Regions from separate parts of the Homo sapiens genome. Here regions 2 and 3 are each linked to region 1. The links are contacts of gene promoters, found by promoter capture Hi-C in human tissues and cell types (Jung and others, 2019). All regions are on one chromosome and are shown on one strand. The core of a region is centred on a gene start or on the middle of the fragment in contact, and the rest is flanking DNA. Distances in the headings are between cores, read along the strand shown. Region 1 overlaps GAL3ST3 (galactose-3-O-sulfotransferase 3). Region 2 holds the start of AP5B1 (adaptor related protein complex 5 subunit beta 1). Region 3 holds the start of CD248 (CD248 molecule).

What was found. The method cuts DNA at HindIII sites, captures the fragments that hold promoters and counts their contacts. A contact is called where the count stands out against the background at its distance.
Region 2: the fragment with the promoter of AP5B1 here is called in contact with a fragment that was not itself captured in region 1 in 2 of the 25 tissues and cell types used here (lymphoblastoid cells and spleen).
Region 3: a contact is called between the fragment with the promoter of CD248 here and a fragment that was not itself captured in region 1, in 1 of the 25 tissues and cell types used here (dorsolateral prefrontal cortex).

What each region holds. Positions count from the first base shown.
Region 1 is chr11:66,042,167-66,045,969 of GRCh38, forward strand. GAL3ST3 (galactose-3-O-sulfotransferase 3) reads right to left here. Exons shown (of 3, transcript NM_033036.3): 2 at 3,125-3,361; 3 at 1-1,511. The coding sequence starts at 3,249. The coding sequence ends at 341. Among named protein-coding and RNA genes, the nearest start is that of GAL3ST3, 5.1 kb to the right of the region's middle. RefSeq lists a silencer at 3,117-3,166 and an enhancer at 3,277-3,476. The HindIII fragment of the contact is 5,576 bases long and covers 1-3,803 here.
Region 2 is chr11:65,778,531-65,782,555 of GRCh38, forward strand. AP5B1 (adaptor related protein complex 5 subunit beta 1) reads right to left here and starts at 2,446. Exons shown (of 2, transcript NM_138368.5): 1 at 1,912-2,446; 2 at 1-1,812. The coding sequence starts at 2,061. RefSeq lists silencers at 1,520-1,789, 1,940-2,119, 2,160-2,899 and enhancers at 1,528-2,430, 3,160-3,817. The HindIII fragment of the contact is 21,769 bases long and covers 1-4,025 here.
Region 3 is chr11:66,315,594-66,319,271 of GRCh38, forward strand. CD248 (CD248 molecule) reads right to left here and starts at 1,451. Exons shown (of 1, transcript NM_020404.3): 1 at 1-1,451. The coding sequence starts at 1,434. RefSeq lists enhancers at 200-896, 3,453-3,678 and a silencer at 1,380-1,649. The HindIII fragment of the contact is 8,045 bases long and covers 1-3,678 here.

The DNA of each region.
Region 1 (3,803 bases), core at 313-2,812:
ATCCACTTGGAAAAGACAGGTTGTGGGGGCTCAGCCCCCAGAAAAAGGCAGGGTGAGCAGTTCTGGACAGCCCTCAGGCCTCTTGTCAAAATCACCAACCAGCTGGGAAGGAGAGGGTGGCCCAGCGCTGGATCCAGCCTATCAGCGCCGTGCCCGAAGGCAAGGTTCAGCCCACGATCGGGAGCGGGGGCTCAGATAGGGAGGCGTACCCCAAAGTTCAGCGAGGGACTCAAGCCCCTTGAAAAGAAAGGGCTCTCATGGGGGCAGGACATGGAGGCAGCCCCTGGCTGGACTCCTGGGAGGGCAGGGCAGGACCCATACTCCTGGAGGCCTGCGGAGCTCAGGGACCTTGAGGGCCGCGAGGCAGCACTCGGATGGGCCGAGGCGGGGGATTGTCCAGGACGGGCTCGGGCCGAGCCCGCGCACCGCCCCGGCGCTTCTGCTTGCGCAACAGGTAGTTCGAGTACTGGACCTCGGGCATGGCCAGCTTGAGGCAGGCCTCGGTGGCCGGGCCGGCGCCGCCGCCGGGCAGGTCATAGCCCATAATGTCCACCTTGCGGCTGGGCTGCCACGGCTGCAGCTGCTTGGTGCGGATCTGCGCGGCAGGCCGCAGCAGTGGCTCGTCCCCGAAGCAGCGCCGCAGTAGGCGCTGGCGGGCCTCGCGCAGCTCGCGCGCCTCGCGCTCCACGCACGCGCGGCCCGCGCGCGCCACGTGGCGCCAGAAGGTGGCGTTGAAGTGGTCGTAGAGGCCGGCGTCCAGGGCGTTCCAGGTGCGCGCCGCCCGCGCCAGCGCCGCGGGGATGGCGGCCAGGCGCGAGCTGGCGGCGCGCGCGTTGAGCTTGGCGTAGAGCACGTCGTCCAGGTCCCAGGCCAGTAGGCGCCGCAGCAGCACTAGCGACTCGTCGAAGTACTCGGCGATCATGACGAGCGAGAAAACCTCCTCCACCTGGCGGATGAGGCCCGCCAGGTAGGCGGCGTCGTCGCGCGGGCTGCGCTCATTGTCGCCGCCCAGGTCGTAGGCCAGCGTGTTGTGTGCGAACATGGCGAAGTGCTCGCCAGCGCGGTAGTATGCCTCGGGCGCGCGCAGGAAGGCCTCGAGCGAGGCGTTGGGTACGCGCCGGAAGGCCGGGCAGTACTGGTTGTAGTAGCTGAAGAGCGACTCGAACATGGCGGCCGGCTCGCGCAGGATGGTGACATAGACGGTGCTGGGCGGCATGAGGCGCTCCAGCTCCGCACGGTCGAAGCGCAGGTGGCTGGCCAGCACGTGCGGCGGCCGCGTGGCCGGGTGCACGAAGTGCGCCGAGAAGTTGCGGGGGTAGCAGAACTGGTGCTCGCAGCTCGGGTGCGGCAGGGCCACCGTCAGGTTGTGGCGCTCGGCAAAGCGAAACAGGATGTTCTGCACCGTCGTGCCTGCCGTCTTGTGAGTCTTCAGGAAGGCCACAGTCATGTGCTTGGGGCGCGGCGGCGAGTTCCGCAGAGGAGGGCAGCTCAAGGGGAACAGCTTGGGGTACCTGCCAGGCCCAGGGAGTGTGCGGAGAGGAGGGTGTGAGGGGGCTGCCGCTTGACCCCTGCCCTTACCCAAGGACTGTGGGATGCCCCACAGCGCGGCCCCGCCTGGGCTGCACTCATGGAAAGGTCGAGGGCGGTGCTTGGTAGCCTCTAAGATGCCCTCTATGATCCCTGCTGCCCTCCTGGTATTCATGCCCTTGAGTATTCCCCTCACCTGAGTTAGGCTGGACTTATCATTGCATCTAAAGAAGAGAAGAGGGCAGAAATGATGGGATGTCACTTCTTAAATTTCATCATAGAAAGACTGTGGCTGGCTAGTATCTTGGTGTCTTTCACTCAATCTGGGATGACAGATGATGGGGGAAGCAAGCTGCCATATAGTGGGCAGCCCTATAGGGAGCTACCACTAAGTGGGAAAAGCCCACAAGGACCTAAGGCCCTCAGTCCACCAGCCGGCTTGAAGACCTGAAGCCTGTCAAAACCACGTGAGTGAGCTTGGAAGCTGATCCCTTCCAATCAAGCCTTCGGATGAGACTGCATCACCAGCAAACACCTTGGTTGCAACCCCATGAAAGACCTTGGTCCAGAAGTTCCCAGTAAGCCACACCTGGCTTCCTGACCCAAAATAACAGATGTTTGTGTTTTCAGCTGCTAAGCTTTAAGATAATTTGTTTATGTAGAAATAAATAAGGGACAAAGACCCCTGGAGATCTTTGAGGAATCCCACTTTGTATATGTAGAAACTGAGGGCCAAAAGGAGAACAATCACTTACACAAAGTCTGGAGACGACTCACATGGTCACTAAATCCTTTTGCTCTTTCTCATTTTTACTCTTTAACTGGCTCCTCACTTTGTAGATGGTTGGCACTGGGCTTTGCAGCAACCCATTGTTATGTTTCTCTTGAGGCTTCTAAAGCCTCATTAATTCAGTCATCAAATATTTTTTGGGTGTCCACTATGTGCCAGGTTAATGCTAGGTTCAAGAAATACAGTAATATACAAAAACAATCCTAGCCCTCGTGAAGCTTTCATTTCTGTTGCTTCATTCTTAAAACATGGGTGTTTGGGATTTCAAACCAAATTATCTGGCAAGGGGGGCTGGGCGCATTCACACCATTCTCAGGGGCAGACAGTGTAGAAAATGGGGACATGAAGTCTCCGAGAGGTGCAGGGATTTGTTGGGTTCACACAGTGAGTCAGGAGTAGGGTTGGGGTTCCCATGAATCACATGGTATCCTGTGTGAGGGTGACTGGCTGTGTCACACATATCATGTCTCACTTTATAGATGAGAAAACGGGGGCTCGGAGAAGTGAGGGGACTTGGCCTTGCCCAGCACTACGGAAGTTGTGAGAAGTTGTTTCCACTGGGGAAATGCTTAGCTGCATGCTGTGGGGAGTTGAGCTGGATTCGGATCTCAGCTAACTGATTCTGTAACTTTGAGCAAGTCACTCAGCCCTTTCATTGAAGAGCAGTCCCTGTCCAGGGAGGCTGTGTGGCCCTAAAGGGAAAGCACTTTCAGAATAGAGGGGAGGAGCAAAGCCTAGCAGGACCCTTCTAGCAGGTGGAAGAATGGGGAGGGGAGCTCCGGCCCCCCTGGGGCCCCGCCCCCTTACCAGCTGAGCTGCGCCCCCTGGTGGATGAGAAGGCTTACGGTGCTGCACCCTAGCACCAGCAGCAGGATTTTCCGGCGGCTCATCATCTTGGTGGCCTGCTGCAGGCGCTGGAGGATGGGTGGCATGGCGGAGTACCCACCCCTGGACCAGCCAGGGCCTCACTATCCAGGACTCCCTTCACAGGCACTCATGGGGGATCCTGCGGCTCTGGTAGCAGGGCCAGTGTTCCCGAGAAGCCTGGCAGAAGAAGGCAGACGGGTTTGCAGTGGGCAGAGGAGATGGGATCTGGCCCCCAGCAGGTCTGATGCAAAGAGCTCCAACAGGTGGGGTAAGCAGAGAGGCCAGGGCAGATCGGATTCCTACCTCCCGTTATCAAGACCCTATCTCCTCACTGCTCCAGATAACTTAGTCTTGGGTGGAATTACAGGGTCTGGGGTGTAGCCAGCCCTTCAGGCTGTAGCCACTCCCATCCCTCAGCCCTGTCTCTGTCTCTCTGCCTGCTCCTAACTCGTCTTTGTCTCATGGTTATTTGTACATGTCTCCCCAGTGGAGTGGCTTTAGCGCCAGGGCTTGGCTCAGAACATAGAGGTCTCAACTCAAAGTTTCCTCTCCTCCAGGACTCCTTGCCCAATTGCTTTAGCCCAGGGTTGGTCCTGACTCCCCAGAGAAACCGAGCTCC
Region 2 (4,025 bases), core at 1,196-3,695, 260 kb before region 1:
TGCTGCCACAAAGCCCTGGTTCTCGGCCACCAGTGAAGAGGCCAGTGCAGGTGCGGCAAGCGAGGGGCCCAGGGCCACCCCCAACTTGGGTGCTGCCAGGTGTGCCAGCAGGATGTAGTAGAGGCGGGCGTGGTCACGCCCATCAGGGTCCTCCAGCTGCCTGGCCAGCACCTGCAGCAAGTCGACCAGGCCGCCCCTCACCCCTGCCCGCAGCAGCGCCCGGCAGACCCGCAGCAGGCCCTGCTGTAGGTCCCAGTTCGTGCAGTGGGCAGCCGCGGCCTGTAGAAAGTTGAGGGTAGCACTCTGGGCATCTCCATCTGCCACCTTTGCCAGCATTTGCAGGTGCCAGCAAAGAGCTTCATCCCTGCCCGGCCTGGACACCACCACCTGCCGCAACACCACCTTCAGGGGCTCCCTCAGCTCAGAGTCCACCTGATCCAAGAGGTCCACAAAGTGGGGAGCCAGCATGGGCCGGGCTTGGTACAGCTGGGCCAGTCCGTGGATCAAGGGGGTCAGCACCGTAGGTTGCCCAGCCAGGCAGCAGGCCACCAGATACGAGGCCTGGAAGCAGAGAGTGGCCAAGGCCCGGGGGCCCCCATCCAGGGCTGCCCGCTGCCGCAAGCCAGCCAGCAGCTCTTCCAGGTAGTGCCGTGGGCTTGGAAGCTGGCCTTTCTCCTCTTCTTCCTCCTCGGCACAGAGCAGGCACAGTAAATGCAGGCGGGCCAGGAGGGCCATTGGGTCATGCAGGAGACTGGGCAGGAGACCACGGCATAGCTGGGGCCCTAGCAGCAGTGGGGCAGCCTCCTCACCTTCAGGGCCCAGCGGCCAGTTCTCAGGGAAGCTCAGGACGCAGTGAAGGTAAAAGAGATGGGTGGGCGGAGGCAGAGCAGGGTGCTGGGCAGCCAAGGTGAGCCGGCGGAGCAGCAACGCTTCATCCTGGGCTGTGAACAAGGCCTCACCAAAGGCCGCCTTGAGCGCAAGCATGGCGTGCAACAGTGTCAGCTGTGCTGTGCCTAGCAGCCGTACCAGCTGCGGCTTGAAGAGTGCCGGTGGCTGTCCCTGCAGACCCCGCAGGGCCCAGCCCAGCAGCCACAGGAGCTGGGCCTGGGCCACAGGAGTGAGCAGATAGGAGGTGTCCAGAAGCTGGATCACCGCAGCCCGCAGCTCCCGCGCCTCCTCAGGGCTGTGCTCTCGTGCTGTAAGGCTACGCTCCCCCTCTCCCTCCTCAGCTGCCGGCCAGCTGGGTGCCTGGGGCTGAAGGCGTCCATCGCCCTCCTCCACTAGTGTCCAATCCCAGGGACCACCCCCAGTTGGGGAGACCTTATCCGTGAGCAGTCCCCCCAGGCCAGCCCCAACCCGGGACTGGAGCACCAAGGTGTTGCGCAAAGCGAGGGCCAGCAACAGGCTGAGTGGCTGGACAGGGCCTTCCTGCCCCAGCAGGCCCCGCAGCAACCCCAGGGAGCCCCCCAGCAGCCCGGGCTTGCAGCTCTCTAGCTCTCGCAGGCACTCGCAGGCCGTGGCCTGCAAGGGGCGCTGTTCCGAGGCGGGGACAAAGCCTCGCCCCAGATCGCTACCCGCGGCCAGGCCGAGCAGTAGGGGCAGGAGCCGGCAGGAGGCGCCCGAGGTGGGGCCCAGCGCGCCGCCCGCCGCCAGGGCAGTGGTGGCCGCCAGCAGCAGTGGCCGACGGAGAGCTGAGGGCCGCGGGGGTAGGAGGACCAAGGTGTCCAACAGGGAGGTGGCGGCCACTTCGGCCGCAGAGGCGTCGGGCCACAGCTGCGCAGGGTACTCCATGCTCAGGGCCAGCAGGGAAACCTGGATGGGGGATTAGGAGGGAATCACGAAGATGAGGTTCATGACGCGGCGGGCTGGGGTGACCCTGCGGAACGGCGCAGGGGACGCGTGGGGGCCTACCTTGGTCTGTTCGCTCAGCTTCTCACTTCTCAGGTCGCTCAGCAGGTCGCGACCCAAATCCTCCCCCTCGGGACCTGCCATGAAGGCAGACGGGCTGGCCCGGAAGGCCCCCAAGCGCTGGGCCCAGGCGTCCCGGCTCAGGGGCCCCATGGTGAGGCGCGCGGGCCCCTGCGCAGGGAAGAGGGACCCTCAGGCCGCAGCCACCGGGAGCGCGGGGCCCGCTGCCGACCCCGAGGGGCTGCGGTCACCCCCAGACGCCGCGCAGATGCCGGCGGGACCCGCGCCCGGCTCCCACGGTGAGACCAGGGCTCTCGGGGCCGACGCCAGAGCTGGGCGCCGGGGCCCTCGCGGGACAGGACAGGAGCAGGGCGGGGGAGGGTGCGTGCCGAGAGCTCGTTAGGCCGCCTCCCTCCCGCCCGCGGCCCGCACCGAAACCACAGCGCCACCCCGGCCCCCGGCGCCGGCGGTAACGGGCCGCGCTCGCCGCCTGACTCAGCCGCCGCGGGCACTCAGGCCGGCCGGCTCCTTCCGGGCTGGCGGCGCGGGGCGGGGCGCGGCGCGGGGGCGGCCGAGTCCGGGCGGGGAGGGGCGGGGCGTAACGGGGCCACCGCCTCCCGCAGGTGTCGACTCGCAGGTTTCGCGGGGGCTGACTAACTGTCCCGCCGCGCAGGCCCCCTTCCCCGAAACCGCCGCAGGCCGGGGCAGGAAAGGCGGAGGGGAGTGGGTAGGGGTGGCGGAGCGGGGTGGGCCTGGGCCCCAGATGCCGGGTACCGCGGCGCAGGGCTGCGATCCCGCGGCCCTCGGCGGACAGCGGCCCGGTCCCACCAGCGCCCGCCAAGCCGCGCAGGGCGGCAGCCAGCGCGCCCCCCGCCGGCGCCCGGGCACACCGCACCCTGCGCCAGACGCGCGGCCCCGGGGGGCGTGGGTGCGGGTCCTGGGGCTCCCGGAGTGGCCCCTGGGGGTGACCAAGGTGCGGTCGCAGGGCGCCCGCAGGAAAAGCGCCCCAGCTGAACCGGTCCGGCGGGCGCCGCAGGGCTTGGCTTCGCTTCCCTGACGCCTGCCCGGGCCCCCAGCCCGCTCGGCTTGGGGGCGAGGAGCCGGCGCCGCGGTTGCGGCCAGCCAGGAGCTTCTGACCTTTGTTTGCCCGAGGCCGCGCTGGCGGCCCGCAGGGGTCGTGACGGCGAGGGCGGGGCAGGGCCCTAAGTCGAAAACAACGGGATCCATACTCGGGAAGTGCGGGCTGTCAGGGCCTGGCCGGTCACGGGGCTCGAGGCATGCCTAGCGATGGGGAAAACAGGCCCAGGAGGAGGGCGGCCTTGCCAACCGAGATCTGGGGCCAAGCCGGGCCGGAACCCAGCACTCCAGACTTCAGTGGGCTGGATTCTGGCTGTTTGGGGGCATTCGGGGGTCTGGGCGGCGGTCTCTCCCAGGCCAGAGGCCCAGGTTGCAGGTGCCCCACAGACCACCGGTTTCCAGGGCACAGAACCGCCGGCGCCCAAACCTCACCACCCCTCTGGCTCCAATTAGCCGCTTTGAAGATGAAACAGGCCTGAGCCCCCATGCAAGCCAGTGCCAGCTGGCCTCTCCCTACCCCATCCTGCTCCAGATGGGAGGTGGTGGAGAGTTGAGGGGTGGAGAGTGCCAAAAAGGAGGCTGTCTGGGTGCCCTTGGGGATGGAGAGATAGAGACCCACTCGGAGGGACAGGTCCAGCCAGAAGGCCCGGTCCCGGCTCCTCTAGGCCCTGGCTCCACAGTTGACTCACAGGCAGCAGCCCCAAACTACTTCCCTCTAGGTGCCTCAGTTTCCCCATCTATAAAATGGGAGTGATAACTCCCACCCAAGAGGCTGTGGGGTGAGGCAGCCTGGCTAATTAAACCCAAGATGAAAGAGGCAGGATGAGAGCAGCCCTGGGGAGGGGAGGCAGCCTGCAGTAGGAGCCAGTCTGGTTTCTCTGTCTGAGCCCAGAGGGTGCTGGTAACTGCACATCCCCGGCCCTCACCACCCTCACGGTGAGGCAGGAATGATCATTAAACTTCTTGCAGAGTTGAGAAGACAGGTTTCCAAGGATCAGGGGGCCTGACACTGGCTCTGGCCCCGGCTCAGCCTCTGACAG
Region 3 (3,678 bases), core at 201-2,700, 270 kb after region 1:
ACGGGACAAAGCTGGGTGTGTGGCAGGGATCACAGGAGGCTGGTGGGCAGAAGGCAGTGTGGGATGCGTGGCAGAGACCACCACAGGCCGGGTGACGGAGAGCACTGAGGAGTGGTAGGGGACCCTGGGGGCACTGAGCGGGGGTGGCCAGGTGGGCTCCGGGTAGGGTATCTGTGGCTCTCTGTCCTCTGGGAAGCTCGGTCTATAGGCCAGGGCAAAGTCAGGCGGCTGCGTAGGCTCCATCCACAGGATCCCAGGCATCTCCGTCCAGCCACCGTTGAAGGCCTTCCAGGCCTCGTCTTCATCTTCCTCATCCTCCCCGTCATCCAGCAACTCATCTCCGAGGTCCTGGGAAGCCTGGGCACCCATGGCCCCTGCAGGGCTGCAGCTGATGCCATCAGCCTCCAGCTCATGTCCCTCGCTACAATAACACTCGAAGCCACCAACGTAGTTGACACACATCTGCTGGCACACACCGGCAATCTGGCACTCATCTGTGTCCACACAGCGGTGCGGATCATCCTCCGCTGGCCGGAAACCCAGGCGACAGTGGCAGCTGTAGCCTTGTGGCCCACCGGGCTCACACTGCTGCTCGCACGGAGCCTGGGCACAGGGGTCCTCGCAACTGCGCCCGTCTGCTGCCAGCCGGAAGCCCTCAGTGCAGCGGCAGGACACGTGACCATCCACCTCCTCCACACATTCGTGTTCGCAGCCCCCGTTGTCAGGGCTGCAGCCAGTCCCCAGGCACAGGGGCCCAGCCCGTGACCAGCCCACACCTCCCTCAGGCTGCTTCACGCAGAGCAGAGAGGCTCCCCTGCCAGCCTGGCACTGCACAGCGGCCACAGAGCCGAAGGGCAGCCACTCAAACTCTGTGGAGACCAGGTGGAAGGGCGTGGTATACACGGCTGGGCCGGCCTGGCCCGCCTCATCTTGCAGCGCCGGGCAGGCGCCCTCGAAGCCAAACTGGCACAGGTAGCCGTCGACAGCCAGCGTGCACGAGCCCTCCAGCCAGCGGTGCTCGCCACTTGCCTCCAGGGCCACACAGCGCTGGGCCGGGCAGGGGCCTCCAGAGGCTGGCTGGGCCCAGTTGGTGAAAGCCGTGTCCTGGTCCCCTGTGGTCCACGTGAAGCCGCGCAGTGGGCGCTGCAGCTGGCATTGCCGGGCCTGCCGCTGCAGCCCGATCCACAGCAGCCGGCTGGCTGGGCCCGCACCCACCAGGCTGTCCACACGCTGGGCCTCCTCGGGGGTCCGAGGAGTGGCCAGGTCGCCCCCCAGCTCGCGGCAGGCCCGCCAGGCCTCCAGGAAGGTGCGGCGCCGTGGGAAGAGAGCGTAGCAGCTGCTGGGGCCGCAGGCGGCACGGGGCTCAGCAGCCCAGGGGTCCTGGCCCAGTGTGGGCCCTGCGGCCGCCCAGGCCAGCAACAGGCGCAGCAGCATCGCGATGCCCCCGGACTGGTCCGGCCCCGGGCTGGCGGCAGCTCTTGACAGGGGGAGGGCCTGGGGCCTCCTGCGGGCGGGCCGGGGGCGGGCCTGGGGCCGGGCTCAGGCCTTGTAAGGAGTGGGCTGGGGCGGCTGCCAGCTCCCTGCTCCCTCTTCCCCGGGGGCCGCTAGAGCAGGAAGCAGTGGGGTGGGGGGCTCTAAGGTTGGGGGCGGAGGAGGGGAGAAGGCGCAGTTGACGGCTGCCCCAGGCCCCATGGGGCTGAGAGTCAGGGGGTGGGAAAAGCCTGCCTGCCGAGCTCTGTGACCCTCAAGTTGGGGCTCGGGGCTGTGGGGTGAGGTCGCTTCCCAGAGACTCAGAGACCCAAATCTGGACACAGCAGCCCCATCACACCCGGGAGCAGTCTCAGCCCAGCTGCTCGCCATGCACGGGAACACCCTCATGCCCACTCCTTTCTTGCCCCACAGACGCGCGCATGCGCCTCCCCCACCCCCAACCCCATGCAAGAGTGCACTCTCTGCCAAGCTGTTTGTCCCTTCACCTCACCGTGGACCTATGCTGGCTTGCAGATGACTCCCTTGCCACACGTACACACATTCTGACATGCTGAGACCCTAGGTGCACATACAAAAATGGTGTGGCATTCTACATGGCCTGACATATGAAGACCTCCGATTCGGCCTGAATGGAAACAGCTTGGTCACCCAGGCACAGGCATCCTCAGCCTCTCATTTATTTACTGAGCCCCTGCGTCAGCCTCTCCCCCTATACTCAAGCTTTCTGGTTCCAGCTGGGCCAGCGTGTGGGGGTGTTGGGGGAGTGAGGGGGCCAGGGGCTGCCCTCCCCTCACCCCAGCTCAGCCTGGGGCCCTGGGAACCTGGGCTTAGAGGGGGAGGAGGCAGCCCCTAAACAGGAAATGCCTCTCTGGGCTCCTGCGTCAGGAAGGCAGGGTGCGTGGTTTAGGGGGCTGGGTGGGGGCTGGGCTGCACGCAGGATGTGGAAGGCTGTGAGGGGACCCATGCAAGGCCATGTATGGGCATGGGGCACACAGTGACATATATGTGTATATGTGACACAGGCATCACGTGTGTGGAGCCCTCCCTGCCCCCGGGGCCTGCTGTTTCGGCCTGGCCAGGGTCCTCTTCCCGCCCTTCCTGGAGGCCTCTGGAGGCATGTGCACTGAGCCCATCATCCAGGATGGCCTCTGGGGAGCTGGCTGGCGGATTAACCCATGCACACCCGCTGCACTCTTAGCAGAAGTTAGAAACAGTGTGGGGAGGTGGGGGAGAGGTTCCGCCCTTCAGTAAACTGCCCTGATGCAGCTTCCCCCTCTGCCACAGATGGATCGACTTTGTGACTGCAGGGGAGTCACTGGCCCTCTCTGGGTCTCCTTTTTTCTCAGTTGCAACATGAGGGCAATGAGTCCAGGATTTTTAGCTCAGCAGGGCTGAGATATTGCGTCACAGCGCTCAGTGTTTGCAAATGTGCTTTGTCAGCTGTGGAGCCTGAAGCAAATGTTCCTGTCTTCTGAGCATATGTGGTGGGTGGAGACCAGGGTGCGTTTTTGCAAACCACCTTACAGTGCCTAGGCTGGCCCTGCAGACCCAGCCAGCCCCTCGAGAACCAGGGCTTAGGAAGTTCTTGCCATATGCCTGGAAGTTCCTTCTTACAAGGTCTATACATGTGAAGCACACAGAATGACTCCCCTTCTCAGGAGACAAAAGTCAAGATGGAGGAGTTCATCCTTCTGTTGGCTCAGGCCCCAAACCTTGAGGTCATGCTTGACTCCTCTCTTTCTCCCACAGCCCACATCCAGTCTCTCAGCAAATCCTGTTGGCTTCACTTTCAAAAGAGATCCAGAATCTGACCACTCCTGGACACCTTCTTTGCCACCCACCCCCGGCCCAGGTGGCTAGCAACGCCAATCTAGATTTCCCCAACAGCCTCTCCCGTGGTGTCTCTCTTGCCCTCTCCATCCTGCCAGAGGGATCCTTTCAAAATCCAAGTCAGATCTGATCACTTCTCCATTCAGAACCCTCTGAGCCCCCCATCTCGCTTAGAGGAAGGGCCACAGTCCTTGCCATGGCCTCCTGGTCTATGTCATCTGCCTCCAAACTCTGGCCTCATTGCTGTTCCTTAAATGCTCCAGACACTCTGCCTCACAGCCTTGGTCTTGGCTGTTCCTGCTGCCTGGAATGCTCTTCCTCCAATATAAAAATGCTCTGCTTCTTTACCTTCTCCAG